Regions from separate parts of the Homo sapiens genome. Here all the other regions are linked to region 2. Evidence: promoter capture Hi-C in 16 types of primary human blood cells and fetal thymus (Javierre and others, 2016). All regions are on one chromosome and are shown on one strand. Each heading gives the region's core, a stretch centred on a gene start or on the middle of the fragment in contact. The rest is flanking DNA. Distances are from core to core; before and after follow the strand shown.

Evidence for each region. The method cuts DNA at HindIII sites, captures the fragments that hold promoters and counts their contacts. A CHiCAGO score of 5 or more calls a contact.
Region 1: a contact is called between a fragment that was not itself captured here and the fragment with the promoter of MYOT in region 2, in 3 of 17 cell types (M1 macrophages, M2 macrophages and naive B cells). The highest score is 6.4, in M1 macrophages.
Region 3: a fragment that was not itself captured here is called in contact with the fragment with the promoter of MYOT in region 2 in 1 of 17 cell types (naive B cells); the score reaches 5.1 in naive B cells.

What each region holds. Positions count from the first base shown.
Region 1 is chr5:137,811,377-137,814,928 of GRCh38, reverse strand. No RefSeq gene overlaps it. Among named protein-coding and RNA genes, the nearest start is that of MYOT, 55 kb to the left of the region's middle. The HindIII fragment of the contact is 208 bases long and covers 1,689-1,896 here.
Region 2 is chr5:137,865,835-137,869,560 of GRCh38, reverse strand. It overlaps MYOT (myotilin), which reads right to left and starts at 1,701. Exons shown (of 10, transcript NM_006790.3): 1 at 1,608-1,701. The region is part of intron 2 of PKD2L2-DT (PKD2L2 divergent transcript); the gene reads left to right. The HindIII fragment of the contact is 5,979 bases long and covers 1-2,808 here.
Region 3 is chr5:137,918,305-137,921,525 of GRCh38, reverse strand. All of the region lies in intron 8 of PKD2L2 (polycystin 2 like 2, transient receptor potential cation channel), which reads right to left. Among named protein-coding and RNA genes, the nearest start is that of PKD2L2, 30 kb to the right of the region's middle. The HindIII fragment of the contact is 365 bases long and covers 1,707-2,071 here.

The DNA.
Region 1 (3,552 bases), core at 543-3,042, 55 kb after region 2:
ATTGTTTTTGTGGAGATAGGGTCTTGCTGTGTTGTCCAGGCTGATCTCAAACTCCTGGTTCAAGGGATCCTCCTGCCTTGGCCTCCCAGAGTGCTGGGATTACAGGTGTGAGCCACTGTGCCTGGCCCTAACTTGGTTTTTAAAGAAGTAACTTTCAAGATCTATATGTATTAAATTCTTTTTCCATGCCTAGGACAGGTCTTTGAAAGTTCACAGTCTAGCTGAGAACAGGTTTATCTACCTAAAATAGAGAATAGCAGGAAACAGTCAATGACCAGATACAACAGATATACTTCTGTCACTAACATCACACATCTTTTCATTCCCTCAGGGGAAACACTATCCCAGCCTCAACAAGGAGCTTGATTTGGGCACAGAAACAGGAGAAAGAGACCTGCCTTGCCTCCCTTATCCAACCGGAAGTATTCTTCTTCTTCTGTCTTCAATTTATTGCATGATCACATTTATTGCATGGGTGGCTTCAGGAAGGATTTTAGGGATTCCTGGAAATAATCAGTCTTGAAATACTCCCCTCTTCTTCCTTCATCTAGGATGCTTCCTCTTCTCTCAATATATTCTCACTTATGGGTATAAAGGTAAGTTGAGTCCTCCTTTGATATTAACTCTGCCTTCAGTTACCCTTAACTTTCCTTTAGTCAGCTTTCAACCTAGCCTGAAGAGAAGCCTTTGGAACCCCTGTGTACATGTTGATGGGAATGTAAATTAGTACAGCCATTATGGAAAACAGTATGGAGGTTCCTCAAAAAATTAAAATTAGAACTACCATATGCTCCAGCAATACCATTCGTGGGTATATATCCAAAGGAATTGAAATCAGCATATCAGGGAGATATCTGTACTCTCATGTACGTTGCAGCATTATTCATAATAGCCAAGATATGGAATCAACCTAAATGTCCATCAATGGATGAATGGATAATGAAAAAATGTGACACACATACAGACACATACACAGATATATATACAATGGTATACTATTTGGCTTTTAAAAAGAAGGAAATCCTGTCATTTGCAACAGTATAGATGAACCTGGAGGACATTATGCTAAGTGAAATAAGCCGGGCACAGAAAGACAAATGCTACATGATCTTAGTTTTATGTGGAATCTTAAAAAGTCGAACTCATAGAAACAGAGAGTAGAATGGTGGTTACCAGGAGCTGAGGGGTGGTTGTGGAACTGGGGAGATACTGGTCAAAGTTTCCAAATTTCAGACAGAAGAAATGAGTACAAGAGATCTATTGTCTATCATGGTGACTGCAGTTAATAGCAATGTATTGGATTCTTGAAAATTGCTAAGAGAGTAGATCTTAAATGTTCTCACAACAGAAAGTGATAAGTATGTGAGATGATGGATATGTTAATTAGCTTGATTTAACCATTTCATAACATTATCCATATATCAAAACACATTGTTCACTGTAAATATATATAATTTTTGTCACCTATACTGTAATTTAAAAAAGTAAATTAAAAAAAGAAGGAAAGACTTCAAAACCAACACATTGAATTACTCCCCTGGTATATTGTAAATGCTTTAAAGCCTCAGCTTGGTTGTAAATTCTTTAAAGCTGTGTCTTGTACTTTTTCTATTCCAAATGCAGAGCTAAGTATATAGTAAGGGCTTAATATATTTTTCTTGATTTATTATTCTACAAAAAACAAAGCTTACAGGAAGAGAGATTGACTCTGTTTATTAGGCTGATGAACTATGCTGTTCAGGCAGAGAAGAAACTTAGGGGACTTGTTGCAAGAATGTTTTAGCATTTTCTCATTCAGCTCTGGTTTACTGGACAGACATATTCAGGATAGTTTACTAATTCTTTTAGGGCATAAACACTTATTCATTCCACTAATAGTCTTCTTTTCTAGAAGCTTTTAAAGATATGAGAAATTATTCTCAATCCAAAATGATTTGAGGTTGGGGGATAGGAGGTTTTTGGAGTGCTGGTTAGGGGAACCTGTTTCCAGGACTATCTGGCAAACATGAAAGTCCAGTCTCCACCCAAAGGACTATAAATCATGCTGCTATAAAGACACATGCACACGTATGTTTATTGCGGCATTATTCACAATAGCAAAGACTTGGAACCGACCCAAATGTCCAACAATGATAGACTGGATTAAGAAAATGTGGCACATATACACCATGGAATACTATGCAGCCATAAAAAATGATGAGTTCATGTCCTTTGTAGGGACATGGATGAAATTGGAAATCATCATTCTCAGTAAACTATCGCAAGAACAAAAAACCAAACACCGCATATTCTCACTCATAGGTGGGAATTGAACAGTGAGATCACATGGACACAGGAAGGGGAACATCACACTCTGGGGACTGCTGTGGGGTGGGGGGAGGGGGAAGGGATAGCATTGGGAGATATACCCTTCCCAATGCTCGCTAGATGACGAGTTAGTGGGTGCAGCGCACCAGCATGGCACATGTATACATACATATGTAACTAACCTGCACAATGTGCACATGTACCCTAAAACTTAAAGTATAATAATTAAAAAAAAAAAAAAAAAGAAAGTCCAGTCTCCTAAAAGGCTCATCTGGCAACTGGAGAGAGGGAGGTAAGACCTTATTTCATATACCAGCTTGTTCAACAATAGACCAAATTGATATGAATTATCCACAAACACTGCAAAAATAGAGGAAATAAAGGCTGATTTTCTGAAGTCTTTCCATGTTTCCTCTCATATAAAAGACTTTTACCCACAATACTTGGTTTATGTTTCCATTATACCTTCTTCTCGAAGTAGCTACTTATAGACTTGTGTTTGCCTACCTGTCAGAATGTAAGCCCCTTAAAGGTGAAGGCATGCATTAAAAATACATTTAATTCACTACTTTTTTGAGGTAAAAATAAACACAAGAAAGACTATTATTGATAGTTATACCATTTGCTCAAGAAAAGTTGAAAAGAAAAAACAAAACATCTTTATGGAAGGAAATTGCTCTTATCAAGGAAAGAATGCCATACTATTTAGTCATATACAGGAGATCTCTTCTGCATGTTCAGGGTGGAAGTCGGAATTAGAGGAGATTGGGTATATGTATGTGGGTGAGAGGAAGGAGGAATATTAGAATTTGATGCCCTTTCCTGCTTTTGGTGGTGTGTTAGTTTGTTCTGAGTTGCTATAAAGGAATACCTGAAGCTGGGTAATTTTTAAAGAAAAGAGGTTTATTTGGCCCATGGTTCTACAGGCTGTATAGGCATAGCACCAGCATCTGCTCAGCTTCTGGTGAGGCCTCAAGAAGCTTACAGTCATAGTGGAAGGTGAAGGGGGAGCTGGCATATGACATGGCAAGAGAGGAAGCAAGAGAGAGGAGGAGGTGCCAGACTCCTTAAACAACCAGTTCACCTGAACTAACAGAGCAAGAACTCACTCATCACCAAGGCAGTGGCACTAAGCCATTCATAAGGGATCTGCCCCCATGATCCAACACCTCCCATCAGGCCCCACCTTCAACACTGGGTATCACTTTCCAACATGAGATTTGGAGGAGACACACATCTAAACCA
Region 2 (3,726 bases), core at 452-2,951:
TGAAACTAGTCTATACCTTACCAAGAAAAGACAGGTGCCATTCCTCCTACTTAGCTCTGTAGTGGGCCTCCTGCCTTCCTACAGTACATCCTCATTTTTTCTCAGATGAAACATTTGCCATGAAAATCAACCTTGAAGGATTATATTTGTCTCTGATTTTTTTTCCATTAGTATGGTAAACCTAAGCGGGACTATATATAGACATTACACACAAAGACTAGTCCTATAAATTGTTTTCACACTAATCCTGTTTTCATTGAAAATATCAGATAAATTGATTCAAAATACATTTGCCTATTTTGTTTCATCTGGTATAAGCCAATACTGAGATAATGACAAATCAAACTTTTAACTGAAAAATTAACCAAATTGTTTGTCATCATTGAAACGAAGTCTTCTAATTATTTTAGTTACTGTCTTGGATAAAATGTTAATAAAACTTTTCCAGACCAAAGAGTTTCATCCTAAATAATAGGATACCTTCAAAAAATAGTATTTCAAAGTTGCCTATGTAGTTTAGAGTTAAATTAAAACTAGCAATTTTAGGAAAAAACAGAAATGCAACTAAACAGCCAAGAGAAAGACGCTATTGAGAAAGAATACTTAAAAAGTTAAATATTCCTTAATTTCAAGTTTATGAACACAAATACATTAAACTAGAATGCATTTTAGAAATGAACTACTTTAGGCATTTAAATTGTTGGGGAAAAACATCCTGAAGGAGGGCCTTGAGTAGATCTAAAAAAAAAGTCTATTTCAAGGCAAGTAGTTTTGTAGTTATCGGTTTATTCAGTCTGTTGCAGAATTGAATCCAGAGTTTGATTCCTAAATTTCTTTCTGGGCAGGTACATTATTGAGACTCATTTCAGATAGCAAGGAATAAACCGCTTATGAAATAGTAGATATTTTCCAGAAACAGTTCTCTTTTTTTCTTTACATATATTTTCAGAATGGCAACTGTCTTGTACATGTTGATATTGGCCTACATTGTTAATAATTAGTGATATTTTTAAAAGCCCAATTAAAAATATGTTATTTCATAAGTTTCATTTTATCCATGTGTCAAAATTTTATGCAGACATTTACGCAGGTGATCCTGTATTTTCTTTATGTTTGTAGTTACTGTTCAACAATTTAATTCTATAATAGATTCTGTTATATGACAGGGTCATTTTATTCCAAATAATGTTAAATGAATTTCAAAGATTTTTATAAATAAAGTACTATTCAGTCTCCTTTTTAAAAAATCTTAACATTTTTTTCCTGTCTCTAATATAGCATAGACTTGCACAGAAGACTGATAGAGGATATGTTGCGTTCATAAGACATCACCACAATTACATCAGATCAAGTGTCCCTTTTCAAGGAAAAATGGTGATTTAAAAATAATGACACACAGCTATCTTTCCTTCTATCATTTGTATAATGCCTTCCAGTCTCAATGAAATGAATGAGTCGCTTTCTCTTTAAATTTTTGTGTAATACCATTATAATGTTGTGGCTTTCAAACTTTTTATCTGAAAATCATCTTTGTATACACTCATCTGATTTGGACAAAAAACAAAAACAAGACCTAAAAGTGTAGTAGGAATAAAGAAGGGACTTACCCGTAGTTCCAGAGGGTGCCAGCTGGGTTTAACCCACTATTGAAGGGAAGGAAGAGGCATCTCCTTCCCTCACAGACTAATCTAGTGGCTCTGTGCTTAGTATTATAGCACCACTGACTTTTATCAGCTGCCAAACAGTGACATCTGATGTGCTTGCCTGTCCATCTACCTATGCTGGCATGTCAAAGTAAGAGTCCACAATCTAAACAATATCTCACGTGTCTTAGTGGTATTTAAGGAGTGGGATTACATGAGCTTCTTTTGCAAGCCTCTTTATTTCAGACGTGAATTTTGACTATGAACTTTAGCAAGCTCATGTGAGGGAAGGGCAGTGAATAGGGAAATGGGAAAAATAGAAAAAAAACCCTCTTATTTCTTTATTATGGTGGGGACTTTGAATTTTCCCAGTTTAAGAGAGAGGACTAAAGGGAAAATAATATTTCAAGAGTGGAGTTCTTCTATCTATTATACTAAGACTTCTCCAGGAATAAGACCAGTGATAGATGGGCTCCCAATTGATTTGTATTGCATAATTCTTCATCTGAAGTCTTTTTTCTTTTGCCTAATGAGAGTAGGATTCAATAATAGATTTGAGGTCTCTCAGTACTAGCAGTTTGTTCCGAGGTGGAGGGCAGTCTGGGCAAAGCAGGAGACCGAGGTCATAGTGACATGTCACTGGGAAGGTAGGGAGGTGGAAAAACATGATGGTGTTTCTTGAGCAAGTTTTCTGAATCTGTATGGCATATGCCCCTTTTGCCTAGTACTTTTATTCTGAAAGAGTTTTGAAACACTTAAGAAACAACCAAACAAATAAGCAATCTATATAATTAGAGCTGTCAATGCATGTTCATCTCCCTTTATTCCTAACAGTTAGTTTCCTTTCACTTTTTGTCACAGAGACCATCATGGTATTTAGATTTCCATTTTTGTGCAGGGAAGTAAATAATTGCAGAAGAATAAAATGTCGAATCAGCAAATGTGGTGAAGTAGGGTAGGTGGCATGAGGATTGGGCCAAGGGAGTAGAATTATCTCCATGGGGTGGCTTCAGTTCCCCTCCCTCATGGGTAGATACCCCAATCTTGATTGAATTAACATGTATATTAGAATCCAGCAAATAGATGTTTGAGCACATATGAGCCATATAAAATCCTTCACAGCTGGCCAAGTAGGTGTACCTTTCTTTGGTGTTCAAAGAAAGCTTGATAATTTCTGCCTGGGCGTGCAGCCCTTAGTAGAAAAAGCATGCTAGACTTGGTGAGTAGGTGGTTGCCTACAAAGTCTTATTTCAGGAGTCTCCCAAAATATTCTTCAACATCTGTTCACTGATATTTCAAATTCCAGTAATACAGACAAAACCTTTCCATCTAAATTAGAGAGACTTAAAATACAAATGCAAGTGATAGGATAAAAGTAATAATAGCCAATATATAGCATTTATTATGAGTAAGACACTCCTTCAAGCATTTTATTTTATTATTAGTTTTTTTTTAGAGACAGGGTCTTACTCTGTCACCCAGGCTGGAGTGCAGTGATATGATCAGAACTCACTGCAGCCTCAAACTCCTGGGCTCAAGAGATCCTTCCTCTGCAGACTTTCAAGTAGCTAGGGCTATAGGCATGCAGCACTATACCCAGCTAATTTTAAAATTTTTTGGACAGACAGAGTTTCGCTATGTTGCCCAAGCTGGTCTCAAACTCCTTGCCTCAAGCGATCCTCCACGTCGGCTTCTCAAAGCACTGGAATTATAGGCATAAACCACATGCCCAGCCTATCTATTCTAAGCAATTTTAAATGTGGTATATGTGACTGACATTTGGTTCTGCTGGAGAACAGGGTTTGATTAGGGCATGGAAAAGGAAATAATAGATTTGAGGTCTCTCTGCACTAAAAGTTTGAGGTATACCTCACCAGCCAAGTAGGGAAGACATCCAGGACAACCTGCTAAATTCCCAATTTTGCCTACAGCAGGTTCTAAGCATACTACACTCGAGGAAGAATTTAGTTCTGCTTACTCTTTGTCTTTCAAGCTTTGCCTCTTCTCTAGGTCTTTGTAAGATACAACCCAGGTTACCGTGTGTTACATGTGATAGCCTTCATGGTACGTCAAGGCTAAAGTT
Region 3 (3,221 bases), core at 640-3,139, 52 kb before region 2:
TTCTGACTTTAATTATGTTAGTACAGAGTTGTGTAAAATTGGATGTAGAAAATTCCCCTAAAGGAAAGACTTAAGGTACCTCGATAGCTGAATAGGTAATGTAGGAAATGACCGCTTTAATGAATGTGAACTCAGTGTTCATCTATAACTTTTTTTTTTTTTTCTTTGAGACAGTCAAACTCTGTCGCCCAGGCTAGAGTGCAGTGGTGCTATCTCGGCTCACTGCAACCTCTGTCTTCCAGGTTCAGGCAATACTCCTGCCTCAGACTCCCAAGTAGCTGGGATTACAGGTGTGCACCACCATGCCCAGCTACTTTTTTTGTATTTTTAGTAGAGACAGCCTCACCATGTTGGCCAGGCTGATCTCAAACTCCTGGCCTCAAGTGATCCGCCCACCTCGGCCTCCCAAAGTGCTGGGATTACAGGCATGAGCCACCACACCCAGCCCACCTATAACATTTGAACCTGAGATACCTGTTTACTAACTGGTTTTGGCAGTGGCCTCCTTGGCCGGCTGTGCCTGTGCCCTTCTAAACATTAGAACTTTGAATTGGTTCAACAAGTGATTTTTCAACTTGTAGAAGGTTTAGACCCAAGAGCCCTAAACTTTCTAATGTCAGTGAAGTGAATTTTTGTCTTAACCAACTCTTAAATTCTGATAAAATAGGGATGCCAACAATTTGTCACTTGCTAGTCTCAAGTGCTGATAATAATACTCAACATGATCCTAAGGTTTATTTTACCCTCTTTGTGATTTTTTTTTTTTTTTAGATGGAGTTTCGCTCTTGTCGCCCAGGCTGGAGTGCAATGGCACGATCTCGGCTCACCACAACCTCTGCCTCCCGGGTTCAAGCAATTCTCCTGCCTCAGCCTCCTGAGTAGCTGGGACTACAGGCGTGTGCCACCACGCCCAGCTAATTTTTGTATTTTTAGTAGAGATGGGGTTTCACCATCTTGTCCAGGCTGGTCTCGAACTCCTGACCTCATGATCCACCTGCCTTAACCTCCCAAAGTGCTGGGATTACAAGCATGAGCCACTGTGCCCGGCCCTATTTTACCCTCTTTGATAGCCTGGTTTGATATGAAATACCACTTAAAATATTTCAAACCTTCCTTTTTCTAATTTTAAAGATGAAAAATGAAGAAATTAAGACTTTGAGTAGCACAGTAGTAACAAGTAGAATTAGAATTTTCTAACTTGAAAATCTTATTTTATTTTCTCATTATTAACTTGCAGTGGTCTCACTGGACGTATCAGGAATATCAGTTTAAATTATGTGTGTGTGTTCTTTATGAGGAAATTTGGAAAAAAATTTTTTTTTGAGACGGTGTTTCACTCTTATCACGCAGACTGGAGTGCAGTGGTGGGATCTTGGCTCACTGCAATCTCCATCTTCCCGGTTCAAGCGATTCTCCTGCCTCATCAGCCTCTCTTGAGTAGCTGGGATGACAGGCACATGCCACCATGCCTGGCTAATTTTTGTATTTTTAGTAGAGACAGGATTTCACCACGTTGACCAGGTTGGTCTCAAATTCCTGACCTTAGGTGATCCACCCGCCTTGGGCTCCCAAAGTGCTGGAATTACAGGCGCGTGGAAACAAATGTTTAATCGTATGTTGATAACTGCGTAATTGGTCAGTGAAAAGGGAGAAAGCCTGCTTGTCCCTTATTGCTTTTGCCAATCACATAAAAGGAGCAAAAAGCTTTAATGAAGGAAGAAAAAGCATTCAAAGAAATGGGCTACATGAAGTCCTAGGACTCAGAGTTATCTGAGATTCCATCCACGGTACCTAGCTGAGACCTGACCAAATCATACCTAAAGTATTTATCTTGCTTTTAATACTGGTTTGTAATGCTTTCCTACATAAGATAGAGAAAATACTGAATTGGAAGGAATTGGTGGAAAGTCTCACCACAAATCAAATATTTTTTCTGGCATAGGAGAATAAGAGGTTCTGTTTTAGTGTTTCTGCCATGATCTTTCATCTTTGAGTTGGGGAAAAAAAAAAAGATGAAGGAACCATTCTCATTCTTTTCTCCTCTCCAGATGTTAGCTTAGTAACCAAAGCTTCCATTCAGCCCTTTTCTGTTAGGAAAGTGTTAAGATACTTCTGCTCTGTAATAGGGAGAATGACAAAAACTGAAGCATTTACTGAATGGTTAGAATCTCATCGAAACTGGAGGCTCCAAATACAGTGTCTCTTTTCTTAATTAGAGCTTAGTTTATCCATTTTGTTTCTTTTTTGCAAGCTAAAAGCACCATGACGCCTCAACATACAGGGTTATATTGAATGAAAATACTGTTTTGTAACTTTTTGATGGCCCTGTTAACTTTAGATAGAGTTCTCCCTTATTGAATTAAAATAACTAAAAGTATGTTTCAAAAGAACATGCCATTTGTCATTAATAAGACTTTCCAGTCTCTCTCTTGAAGTCATTGATTGGGTCACTACAAGAGATTCATCTTTAACTTGAGGGTGTAGCAATTCAGGCTCCCTGCTTGATGTATAGAAAGGTGACTAGATGGTCCTCTCCCTACACACACACACACACACTCACACACACACACACACACACACATTGTGCAGGCCCTGGACCTTGCCTCTGTCTCCTTCCTGAGAGATGGCCAGCAACACAGTTTCTCAACTATTTCGTCTGGATCAGGAAAAAAAAAAAAAAAGATTCTTGGAAGGTGGAAGAGAACCATGGGAAACTTATTTCTCCCCTGTCCCCATCTAGACAACAATTACATGGGCAGAATCTGTCAGATGTACTACTTTGGAACTCTAGAGTCTATTGAAGAAGGCCTGCAACTTCCAGGGAAAGGCTTGGACAGTAAATTGCTGTTAATTTTGGACAATTTCAGCTTTTATCTCAATAGCTATGCATCCCCTACTCATTAGCCTCATGGCTGGGATCCATGCACATGTTTGTGAAGCAGCTTGCATGTAGCTTATGGGAGCCATGTGGGGAATAAATACTATGTCTTTCAAATATTGGGGATCTATGTGGTGATTGCTGATTGCTGCTTCTGATCGTGGGGATGCAGACACTGAGGTGGGCAGCCATTGTTGCATCTCCTCCATTGTTGCAAGACCATCGTCCTTCAGCTGAAGTAATGTCCTTGGGATTTAAAGGGCTGTTATCTTCCCCTACCTCTCACTTTATTCTTCTCTTTTCCTTTTTTGGGATCCAGACATTAAAGAATAGGACATTCAAA